Linked DNA regions of Homo sapiens: region 2 is linked to region 1. Evidence: promoter capture Hi-C in human tissues and cell types (Jung and others, 2019). All regions are on one chromosome and are shown on one strand. The core of a region is centred on a gene start or on the middle of the fragment in contact, and the rest is flanking DNA. Distances in the headings are between cores, read along the strand shown. Region 1 holds the start of DCTN3 (dynactin subunit 3). Region 2 overlaps DCAF12 (DDB1 and CUL4 associated factor 12).

Region 1 (5,768 bases), core at 225-2,724:
ATACACAATATATTTTCTGGTTCCTAAGTCCTGGGTTTGGGCATGAGAAACACAAGCATCCTCATTCAAGCCTTCATGACCTCTAGATTGGCTGGCCTACCTCTAGCCCTATCCCCTCCACATCAAATTTGGTGTGGGAGATGGAAGAGTCCAAACAACTGGGATCCCAATGATGGTGCAATCACTGAATTAGGGAATACAGAAGAGAATCAGGTTAGGGGAGAGAAAGAGTACAGTTAAGGGCATACAGATTGAGTTTGAAATGACTATTGGATATCCAAGTGGAAAAGTCCAGTAGACAACTAGACATAAAAGTCTGGTTCTCAGAACAGAAATCTGGACCAGAGATATACATTTGAGACATATTGACATGTAAATAGTAATTGACACCATGGAAGCGAGTGAGCCTACCTAAAGTTTAGGGGTAGAATGTAAAGAATCCCAATATTAAAGGGTCAAATAGAGGAGGAGACTAAGGAAGTGACTGCACTCACCCAGTTTTTAGGGTAGAGGATGAGGAATGCCAGGGGGGAGGCAAATAACACTGAGAAGCAGCCGTAAGAGGTAGAAGGAAAACCAGGAGGGTCAGCGTCATAGATCCCAAAGGAAGAGAATGTTTGAGAAGTTAGTTCTGAAATGGGAGCACAGTCTGCTAGTGACAACTAATTCCTCATTTAGTGTACAAACAGACATCATTACCTTGGACGCACTTAGCTCCAGGACATGCCTGACACGCCATCAGAAGTTCTTCAATAAAAGATCTTCCCATAGTAGAAAGGGGAGGAGAGGGCACCTGAGCTTCGTAGTTGTCAAAATTCTGTCACTGGTATAAAGCAGTGCTAGTCCACATCTGAATACCCAGTACCCAGTCTCTTCCCTTCCTAATCCTGGTCCTTTCAGACCTCACTTCTCACCCTTTGGCGTTTTCCTTATCCACCTCTGCTCTGCCTCCCCAGGGGTCCCATGGACCTCTTCCTGCACAATTCATTTAGCAATTAATTATGCAGGGCTCTATGACGGGCCTTCCTATCGTGGACTTCAGCTCTTATTGAAACTCTCATTAGTCAGCTTCTCGTGTCAGGTCTCCCCAACTATAGCTCGCGAGGGCAAGGGCGGAGTCTCAGCTACAGTAGGTACGGAGCCCACTCTCAGGCTGGCTTAACCACCCGCAGAGCCCCCTATGACAGTGGACCCCGATGGTCCAATCAGCTCTGGGAGGTCCCGGACCTTTGTTATTTCAAAGGCCGGGCTGCGGAGAACAGGACTGGAGCGGTTGCATCCCGAGGGCCAGGACAGTGGACCGCTCTTGCTCTGCTCCAGAAAGGGACTACCGGACCAGACTACTCACCTTCCGTGAGCCGCGCGCCCCGCCCGGCCCGTACACCCAGCGCTCCAGCTCTTCCACTCGGGCCTGTAGCCGCTGCAAGTCAGTCAGACCCGCCATCGCTACTACCGACCCACCTCGGCCAGGAAACAGCCAGAGGGCGGGACGTCAGTCCAAATAAGAAGGCTAGCCAATCCGAGTGCACGAGCGGCCCTTTATGCAGGAAGTGACGCCATGATTCAGCCCTTCAGTGCCGGAAGTTACTCCTCGGAGCTGTCAAAAGCTGATTACCTTGGCAACGGCTCTGTCCCATCCCTCCCCTGGCTTCCAGTGCCTGGTTGTCAAGATAACCTTTGCTTTTCGGGTACCAAAGAGCTTTCCCCACGCCATTCCCTGAGTTTGCACGTGTTCCAGGATAGGTCCATTCCCATAGATACATCATTAGGAGGCTCCGTGAGTTACCATAAACTTTTGGAGTCTTCTAAGGTTCAGTTGATTAAGTAACTTGCCCAAGGCCACCCAGCACTATAGGGACAGAAACAGGACTTGAACTCAGGCTGTCTGATTCAAGAGACGGAGCTCTTCTATTCTCACGAAACTTTGCTATTCTGCCTTAACCTCTGAAAGCCCCTGGCCCAAGGCAGCCTATGTTCCACATCATTCCTCCCCACCTCCCATACCCAAACAAGAAAGGAGGCATCAGAGAGGGAGGGACCGCAGCTTTATTGTCTAGATGTGACCTGAGGGATGTCTCTTTCACAGTACCCCAACCCAACCTTTCACTTGGCTCCTGAAGAGAAGCAGGGCTGACTCAAAAGGGTAGGGTCCTAGAGATGACATTGACAGAGGGAACACATGAGGAGATGATGGGGTTACTGGAGGAAGAACCCTTTGGTAGGTGCTGCTGGAATTGGCCAGGGAGGAGGTGCCCTCCCTTTACAATGAGGTAGGTGTAACATCAAAAGAAACTTTGGTTTTAAGTCCACATGGCATGGGAGGTGTCGTCCCCTCCCAGGGCTGGGTCCCAGAGTGGGCAGCCAGAAAGAATCAAAGCAGGGGGTCTCCTCCCCCCTCAGCAATGGGGCTGGGACTCTTAGTTTCAAGTAGGACCTCTCAGGGCAAGATGCTGGAAGGGGGCCCTGTGGAGGGTGGGGGTGCAGGGTTGGTTGGACCCTGGGAAGCTGGCACAGGCTGGCGGCGGGCAAAGAGGACACCTGGCAAAGGGGTGAGGAGATGGTAGAGGGCAAAAACAAGCAGGAGGGGGTAGGGTATGGAAACAGAAGAGGGGAACAAAAGTAAGTGTTCTGGTTGCTAGAACACTACACACGTACCCCTGCCACAAACCAATGAGGACAAGCTCCTTGGGTCAGTAAGAGACTCCATTGCTAATGTAGATACCTCAAACAGGTAAACAAGGAATATTTATGCTGATACATAGGCCCAAGACAAGGCAGACATCCCCTGGTACTCATGCCAGAGAGGTCATGCCTTGGATCCCATGCCATGTAGACACCCCCTTTAACCCATGCCAGTCTAGCAATCCCCTGAACTCCATGTTACTCATGCAAGTTTAGATATCCCTGAACTTCATGCTAGTAGAGGAAGTCTAAAATCCCCATGCCAGCCTAAATACCCCTGACCCCATGCCAGTGTAGACAGCCTGCAGTACCCATACCAGTGTAGACCACCCCGTTGATCTCTAGGGCCATGTTGATACTGCTGATGCCACTGCCTGCCAGATTAAGAGGCCCATCCAGCCGCTCTTCTGTCCAGGAGGGGGCAGAGGAATCACATTTTGGAGAATCAGACTTCTGACTTATTAATAGAATTTCCCCCCTCCATCCCCGTAGACAGCCCCCATTCCACTTCAGCCCCACACCTATACTCACACAGTTGTCTACAGAGGAATCTGTCTGCCCCGTCTCTAACACCTATCAGGTGATGGGTCAATCCTCCCTCAGTGTACAGTCCCGAAGCCCCCTCACAACAAGCCCCTCCTCACCCCTCAGGGGAACCTTGCCACGGGGCAGGAAACTGGGGGGCATGCAAGGTCGAGGTGGGTCCATAGGCCCCATCAGCACAGCTCTCTTCTCTGGGGGCTCCTCTGGTGCCAATTTCTCCCGTGTAGGTCCCAGTGCCAGGCCCACAGGCAGTGCCAGACAAGGGTTTGGAATTCCACTCTCCTCTAGAAGAACAGGTTATTCAGCTCCCCTGGCCAAACCAACCCATCTCTGCATTGGTTCTCCCCCAGGCCTGGGACCAAAAGAGGTAACTCAAGCTCATGTACCAATCTCTCATCCTTCATTCGATCTATCTTCCCATCCAGAGCCTCAGCCTGGAAGCGCTGAAGCTTTTCTCTAGAGCCCAAAGGATCAAGGTACATGTCTAGACAATTTGGGGGATTGTTTTTGGCTGTTGGTTATTAAATAATCCAGGTCACAAGAGGCACAAACTATATGCAAATAGGAGCACTGGGTGGACATGTGTGGAATGGAGTTGCTGTGATTAAAGGACCTTTTCCTGGCCGGGCGCGGTGACTCAGCCTGTAATCCCAACACTTTGGGAAGCGGAGGAGGGCGGATCACGTGGTCAGGAGATCGAGACCATCCTGGCTAACACGGTGAAACCCCGTCTCTACTAAAAATACAAAAATTAGCCGGGCATGGTGGCGGGCCCCTGTAGTCCCAGCTACTCGGGAGGCTGAGGCAGGAGAATCGCTTGAACCCGGGAGGCGGAGGTTGCCGTGAGCTGAGATCGCGCCACTGCACTCCAGCCTGGGCGACGGAACGAGACTCCGTCTCACAAAAAAAAAAAAAAAAGAAAAAAAGAAAAAAAAGGACCTTTTCCTGAACTTCAGCCCCTACACTTCAGTAACCCGTACCCCAGAGCTCTCATTTGGCCGCAAACCTCAGGACCCCTAAACCTTAGTGACCCCCAAACCTCAGAAGCCCGTCAGACCTTACTGCTCCCATACCTCAATGCCTCCCCAGACCTCAATCCTCACATTTTAATGGTTGCTATATCTTAGCGCCCACCTAAACCTCAGAGACCCCGAAACCTCTACCATTCTCCCCTCGCACCTTTCTTAATAGGGCTTGGACTCAGCTGAGCGCATGCATGCGCTGGCAGGCCGGAGGTGGAACCCTGGGCTGGGCCAGGGCTGGACTGGGTCGCCGGAGGGGCGGGGCCGGGACCCAAGGCTGGGTCCTGAGCGCCCCGAGGGGGCGGCCCTGCCAAGCCGAAGAGCGGAGTAGCGGTGTAAGCCTGGCGACGGCCCTCGCGCCGATTGCTGTCTATGGCGGCCTGGAGCTCCCCTGGGGAGCTGAGCGCTCGAGTCTCGCACTCGTACGGGTACAGGTACTTCATGTACCTAGGGGCGGACAGCGGGCGGTGAGTGTATGGGAGGCTGCACCCAGCTGGTCAAGTCCCACAGCCGGACGCCCGCCCGGGGACCCTCCCCCCTCCCGCCCCAGGCCGAACCCGTGCCCCCTTCCCTTCCGCTCCCGCCCCTGGCCTCACTGGGTGCGTAGAGTGAAGGCGGCCGAGGTGATGGTGGTGGGTAGGCTGAGGCCGCGCGTGACTTCCCGCCACACTTTGCGGTTGATGACTTCCACCAGGCCGCCCTTGGCGGTCACCAGGCGAAACAGAGCGTACAGGTCGAGCACCTGCTTCGCCATGATGGGCACGCGGTTCACTGGCGTCCCTGGTGGGGAGCGGGCTGCCGTCAGGACACTGAGACGAAGACCCTGTCTGCAGCATCCCCAGGGACTGATACAGGACGGGAGCCCCGGGGAGGGCGGGAAAGAGGGAGACTTGGGCGGAGCCCACAGAACCCCAGGGTCTCTGTTTTAGCAAGAAGGACAGGAGGCTAGAACGGGGGGGGGCAAAGTTCTGTAAAAGGCCAGATGGCTAAATGGTCTCTGTCACAACTACTCAACGCTGTCATTGTAGCCTAAAGGCGGCCATAGAGAATACCTGAAGGAATGGATGCGGCTGTGTTCCAATAATATAGACTCTGAAATTCGAATTTCACCAGTCTGGAGATGTTATTCATCTTTAAATTTTGTCCCCCAACTATTTAAACAAGTAAAAACCATTCTTATCTTGCAGGCAGCTGGGTTTGGCCTGCAAACTTTAGTTTGCTGTCCCCTGGGGTAGACCGCAGGAAGGACTTTCGGACAGTGCTGAAGAGCCGGCCTCCCCTAAGCAGCAGCCCCCGGGTGGCTGCCCAAGGCTGGGGGATGACGGGCGGGAAAAGAATCAACTCCCGCCTCGGCCCGCCGACTCCGCAGCCCGCGCCGCCCCCGCCGGCCAGTCCTGACAAAGGGGCCTGTCTGCGCTGAGCGATGGGCCCCAGTTAATTCCTTACCGATCCCGTCCCCTTCCGCCGCGCCTTTGGACCCGAACAATTAGCTGCGGCCTGATTAATGGGGGAAAATTATCG
Region 2 (5,815 bases), core at 663-3,162, 530 kb before region 1:
ACCACAATCTACATAATGAACATACTCATTACCCTGAGGTTTCCTCATGCCCTTTGTAAACTTCCTCCTTATCCCACCATGCCACATCTTAGCATAAATAGAATTTTAGTTCAGGCAGGACCACAGCAAAAAAATTACCACAGGATAGAAAGTAGGGCTCTCGGCCAGGTGCAGTGGCTCACGCCTGTAATCTCAGCACTTTGGAAGGCCGAGGTGGGTGGATCACAAGGTCAAGAGATCAAGGCCATCCTGGCCAACATGGTGAAACCCCGTCTCTACTAAAAATACAAAAATTAGCTGGGCGTGGTGGTGTGTGCCTGTAGTCCCACCTACTCGCGAGGCTGAGGCAGGAGAATCACTTGAACTCAGAAGGCAGAGGTTGCAGTGAGCTGAGATCACGCCACTACACTCCAGCCTGGCAAAAGAGCGAGACTCTGTCTCAAAAAAAAAAAACAACAACAACAAAAAAAAAGTAGAGCTTTCTAAAAGAACATGGAAACTACTAACTAATATCCTGACTGGTGGCTCCCAACAAAGGCTTCTGTGGCCACACATTTGTCTGTGGTGTTTGAAAGTCTAGTGCCCTTTTGTGTCACTCCCCCCACACCCCTTTTTTTTTGAGACAGAATTTCGCGCTCATTGCCCAGGCTGGAGTGCAATGGTGCGATCTCAGCTCACCGCAACCTCCGCCTCCCAGGTTCAAGCAATTCTCCTGCCTCAGCCTCCTGAGCAGCTGGGATTACAGGCATGCGCCACTGCGCCCGGCTAATTTTGTATTTTTAGTAGAGACGGGGTTTCTCCATATTTATTGGTCAGGCTGATCTCAAACTCCCGACCTCAGGTGATCCACCCGCCTCGGCCTCCCAAAGTGCTGGGATTACAGGCGTAAGCCACCACGCCTAGCCATCGCTCCCCTTTTTGAACACACTTCCAAATGTTCCATACAGAGCACTATACCTGTTTGGAAACCAACAAAGAAACTGAAAGTCAGAACCCATATGCAGTGCAGCTGTAGGCCTGAGGTGCACACAGGGACTCTTACCACTGCCTCGCTCCCTGGAACAGACAGACTTGACGTTGTATGATGGCTGCCGTGGATCCAAGAAGGAGACATGAGCTTGGGAGCCCACTGCATAAACTGACCATTCACTACCATAAGCCAGACACACATTCTCACGGCAATATGGCAGTTTGGTGGAGAGGAGCTGAAAATAGAGGAGAGATATAACCATGGCATCAGCAGAGAGGGTAAGGCAGGGATATTGTTTCTGGACTCCCACCTTGATGGGCTTCCCTCATATAAAAGCCACATAAAATCAAGCCCTGATTACAGAAATAACACTCTGTTCCACCCCTAGGTATACAGGAGAAAGAGGAGGTGAATGTTAATAAACGGTAAGACCTAGATACTGAAGGAGATAGGTTGGGGAAAAGGTAAATCTGGAATAAATAATCAGAAGTAGCTGGAAAGGCCAAGGCCTTTCTTGGTAGGCTGTTTCAACTATTCAGGTTGTTTCTGGGAATCGTTCCAGGGCACTAAAGCCATAGTCCCACTCTGTTCTGTCTGCCAGGAAGGGCCACCTCAGTGCTTTTCAGATAAAGAGGCTGATCTCTGGCTACCCCCAGCTCACCTTCCCACCTGAATGGGAATTGTACGCTATAGAAAGCACGCCCATGGGACTAGCTTAATCCCAGATAACCCACATCAGCCTTAACCCTGGGTCTTCGTCAGTTAGCAAATCCTCAGTGGGTGCATACAACACATAAGACAGCATACAAGGTCAGTGGAGCTCAAAGGCTATTGTGACATGAAGGAATCACTAATTCCTGGAACCCTGCTTCCTCTTGCAAAGTCCTCAAGGATAAGAAGAAGAGAAAAAGCTGGGCGTGGTGGCTAACGTCTGTAATCCCAGCACTTTGGGAGGCTAAGGCAGGCAGATCACCTGAGGTCAGGAGTTTGAGACCAGGCTGGCCAACCTGGTGAGATGCCATCTCTACTAAAAATACCAAAAATTAGCTAGGGGTAGTGGTGCATGCCTGTAATCCCAGCTACTCAGGAGGCTGAGGAAGGAGAATCACTTGAACCTGGGAGGCGGAGGTTGCAGTGAGCTGAGATCGTGCCACTGCATTCTAGCCTGGGCAACAAAGTGAGACTCTGTCTCAAAAAAAATAAAAAAAAGACAAATGATTCACAGGTAGGTTTAACTCTATGTAAAAGTTGCTTGTTGAATCTCCCTTATCCAAAAGGCTTGTGACTACAAATGTTTTGAATTTCGGATTTCTCCAGCTTTTTTTTTTTTTTTTTGAGACGGAGTCTCGCACTGTCGCCCAGGCTGGAGTACAGTGGCGCGATCTCAGCTCACTGCAAGCTCCACCTCCTGGGTTCACACCATTCTCCTGCCTCAGCTTCCCGGGTAGCTGGGACTACAAGCGCCCACCACCACGCCCGGCTAATTTTTTGTATTTTTAGTAGAGACGGGGTTTCACCATGTTAGCCAGGATGGTCTCAATCTCCTGACCTTGCGATCCGCCCACCTTGGCCTCCCAAAGTGCTGGGATTATAGGCGTGAGCCACCGCACCCGGCCCCGATTTTTAAATATCTACATATATGTAAGGAGCTATCTTGGGGATGGCACCCAAGTCTAACCACAAAATTCATTTATGTTTCATATACATCTTATACACATAGAGTGAAGGTAATTTTATGCAATATTTTAAATAATTTTCTGCATTAAACAATGTTTGGTACACTGACCTGTCAGAAAGCAAAGGTGTCCCATGTGAAATTTTCCATTTGTGGCATTGTGTTGGTGCTCAAAAAGTTTTGGACTTTGGAGGCTTTTTTTTTTGAGAGAGAGTCTTGCTCTGTTGCCAGGCTGGAGTGCAGTGGCATGATCTCGGCTCACTGCAACCTCTGCCTCCTGGGTTCAAGCGATTCTCCTGCCTCAGCCTCCCAAGTATCTGGGACTACAGACGCCCACCACCACGCCCAGCTAATTTTTGTATTTTTAGTAGAGACGGGGTTTCGCCATGTTGGCCAGCATGGTCTCAATCTCTTGACCTCATGATCCACCTGCCTCGGCCTCCCAAAGTGCTGGGATTATAGGCGTGAACCACCGCGCCAGGCCTTTTTTTTTTTTTTTTTTTTTTTTTTGAGATAGGGTCTCGCTCTGTCACCCAGGCTGGAGTGCAGTGGCAAAATTACGGCTCACTGCAGCCTTGACCTCCTCAGCTCAAGTGGTCCTCCTGCCTCAGCACTGCTACCCTCCAGTAGCTGGGACTACAGGCATATGCCACAATGTATGGCTAATTTTTAAATTTTGTTGCAGAGATAGGGTCTTACTGTGTTGCCCAGGCTAGTTTTGAACTCCTGGGCTCAAGCAATCCTCCTGCTTCAACCTCCCAAAGTGTTGGGATTACAGGCCTAAGGTATTGTGCCCAACTGGATTTTGGAGCATTCTGGATTAGGGATGACCAATTTGTATTGTAAATTAAGTCTATTTTCTCATTACCTTACATGATTATTTCAGAGATGGTTTATCTTAATTTGATCGATCTTCAATTGCCAAAGGTTCCTAACACTCAGGATTTCCTTCCCTTACAGCATGCCAAGTAGTCATCAATCTATAAAGAAATACTTAAATGCATTGTTGAGGAGGACTGCTAGTCAAAGGAGCCTCTCAGGAAGCTTATGCAATAGGAAAGAATCACCCTGTCTTACTCTTTAAAAGACTTTCCTGCAAGAGAGGCACACCAGACTCAAAATTTCATGTACTGTGCAAAAACATGCCCAGGCCTTTGGAGAACTGGTCTTTTAAACAAGAATTGAGACCAGGTGCAATGGTTCATGCCTGAATGCCCAGCACTTCGGGAGACCAAGGTGGGAGGATCGCTTGAGGTCAGGAGTTCAAAACCAGCCTGGGAAACATAGTGAGACTCTGTCTCTACAAAAAATTAAAAAAACAAAACAAAACAAAAAAAACAACCAGATGGGTGTGGTGACACATGCCCATAGTCTCAGCTACTTGGGAGGCTGAGGCAAGAGGATCGCTTATGCCCAGGAGTTCAAGGCTGCACTGATCCATGAGCCATGACTGCACTCCAACTTGGGTGACAGAGTGAGACCCTGTATTTATTGTCTTTAAAAATAAAAATACCAACCTGGCCAACATGGTGAGACTGTGTTCCTACTAAAAATACAAAAAAAATACCTGGGCATGTTGGCAGACGCCTGTAATCCCCGCAGCTACTCAGGTGGCTGAGGCACAAGAACTGGTTGAACCCAGGAGGCAGAGGTTGCAGTGAGCCAAGATTGCACCACTGCACTCCAGCCTGGGCATCAGAGCGAGACTCTGCCTCAAAAATAAATGAATAGATAAAATAAACATGAAAAAAAAGCTCAGCTAGAATTACAGTATTTTAACTGTAAGGTGAATTATTAGGTAAAACCACAAAATCATGTTCATCACACCTTAGATAGTGTATTTTCAGCCTTCCAGAGATGAAAGTAGCCATCCAGAGACACTGCTCCCAGTTCCTACAAGAGCAATGAAAACCAGGTTATATTATCATCTATAGCAACTAATGTACGATAATAAGCAGGCGAGGATTCTAAGGTCAGGGTCCTTTATTCCTGTCTCGTGATGATTCCAGCAGAGGTGCCAGTAATTATTAGACCATTACTTCACCCTACAGAACCTAGCTGAATGGCATATTAAATTGAGGCTGCCAGCAATAACACAGGCACCCATGGTTGAAAAACTCCTCACTATGCTATCACTCCCTCAACGTCCTGTTGGAGAGTTAAAGCAGGGCACATATGTGAAGGACAGTTTCATAATCTAGTGTGAGAATTTCTATAAGTGAAGACTCTAATTTAGGAGAGATTAATCTACCCTTAGGCCATAAATACAGATGGGATAGGAGGTTGAGGGAACTACCCTTCAAACTGTGGCCTGATTCAGATTCTGGAGAAGCCTTTCTCTGGCTCTGGGTGTATATTCTGACACTGCTTTTTTTTTTTTTTTTTTTTTTTGAGATGGAGTCTTGCTCTGTCACCCAGGCTGGAGTGCTGTGGCGCAATTTCGGCTCACTGCCAACCTCCACCTCCTATAGTTTTCCTGCCTCAGCCTCCTGAGTAGCTGGGAATACAGGCATATGCCACCATGCCTGGCTAATTTTTTTGTATTTTCAGTAAACATGGGGTTTTACCATGTTGGCCCAGGCTAGTCTCAAACTCCTGACCTTGTGATCTGCCTGCCTCGGCCTCCGAAAGTGCAGGGATTACAGGCGTGAGTCACTGCGCCTGGGTGACACTCTGCTTTATTAAAACCTCAGCATCAGATCTGACTCAATAAGGTAAGACTTAGTGGAAATGTGAAGGGAAAGTAGGCAGTAAAGAATACTGGCCAGGCATGGTGGCTCACGCCTGTAATCCCAGAACTTTGGGAGGCCAAGGAGAGTGGATCAACTGAGGTCAGGAGTTCAAGACCAGCCTGGCCAACATGGTGAAACCCCGTCTCTACTAAAAAATACAAAATTAGCCATGTGTAGCGGTGCATGCCTGTAGTCCCAGCTACTTGAGAATCTGAGGCAGAAGAATTGCTTGAACCTGGAAGGTGGAGGTTGCTTTGAGCTGAGATCGTGCCATTGCACTCCTGCCTAGGTGACAGGAGCAAAACACAGTCTCAAAAAGAAAAAAAAAAAAAAAGGAATGAATACCAAAGAGAAAAAAAGTGATTGTTTTCAGAAGCAAGTATGAAAATCATGCCCAGAATACAGCACCTGCAAAGGCATGTGCAAATGACAGACAGT

The links. Contacts are between HindIII fragments. The study calls those that stand out against the background at their distance.
Region 2: a contact is called between a fragment that was not itself captured here and the fragment with the promoter of DCTN3 in region 1, in 3 of the 25 tissues and cell types used here (dorsolateral prefrontal cortex, lymphoblastoid cells and spleen).

What each region holds. Positions count from the first base shown.
Region 1 is chr9:34,619,021-34,624,788 of GRCh38, forward strand. It overlaps DCTN3 (dynactin subunit 3), which reads right to left and starts at 1,475. Exons shown (of 7, transcript NM_007234.5): 1 at 1,349-1,475. The coding sequence starts at 1,444. ARID3C (AT-rich interaction domain 3C) reads right to left here. Exons shown (of 8, transcript NM_001017363.4): 4 at 4,844-5,027; 5 at 4,405-4,694; 6 at 3,327-3,509; 7 at 3,000-3,089; 8 at 2,029-2,538. The coding sequence ends at 2,438. RefSeq lists an enhancer at 5,174-5,722. The HindIII fragment of the contact is 3,867 bases long and covers 1-1,544 here.
Region 2 is chr9:34,092,244-34,098,058 of GRCh38, forward strand. DCAF12 (DDB1 and CUL4 associated factor 12) reads right to left here. Exons shown (of 9, transcript NM_015397.4): 6 at 4,473-4,538; 7 at 1,043-1,205. Among named protein-coding and RNA genes, the nearest start is that of DCAF12, 32 kb to the right of the region's middle. The HindIII fragment of the contact is 6,258 bases long and covers 1-5,041 here.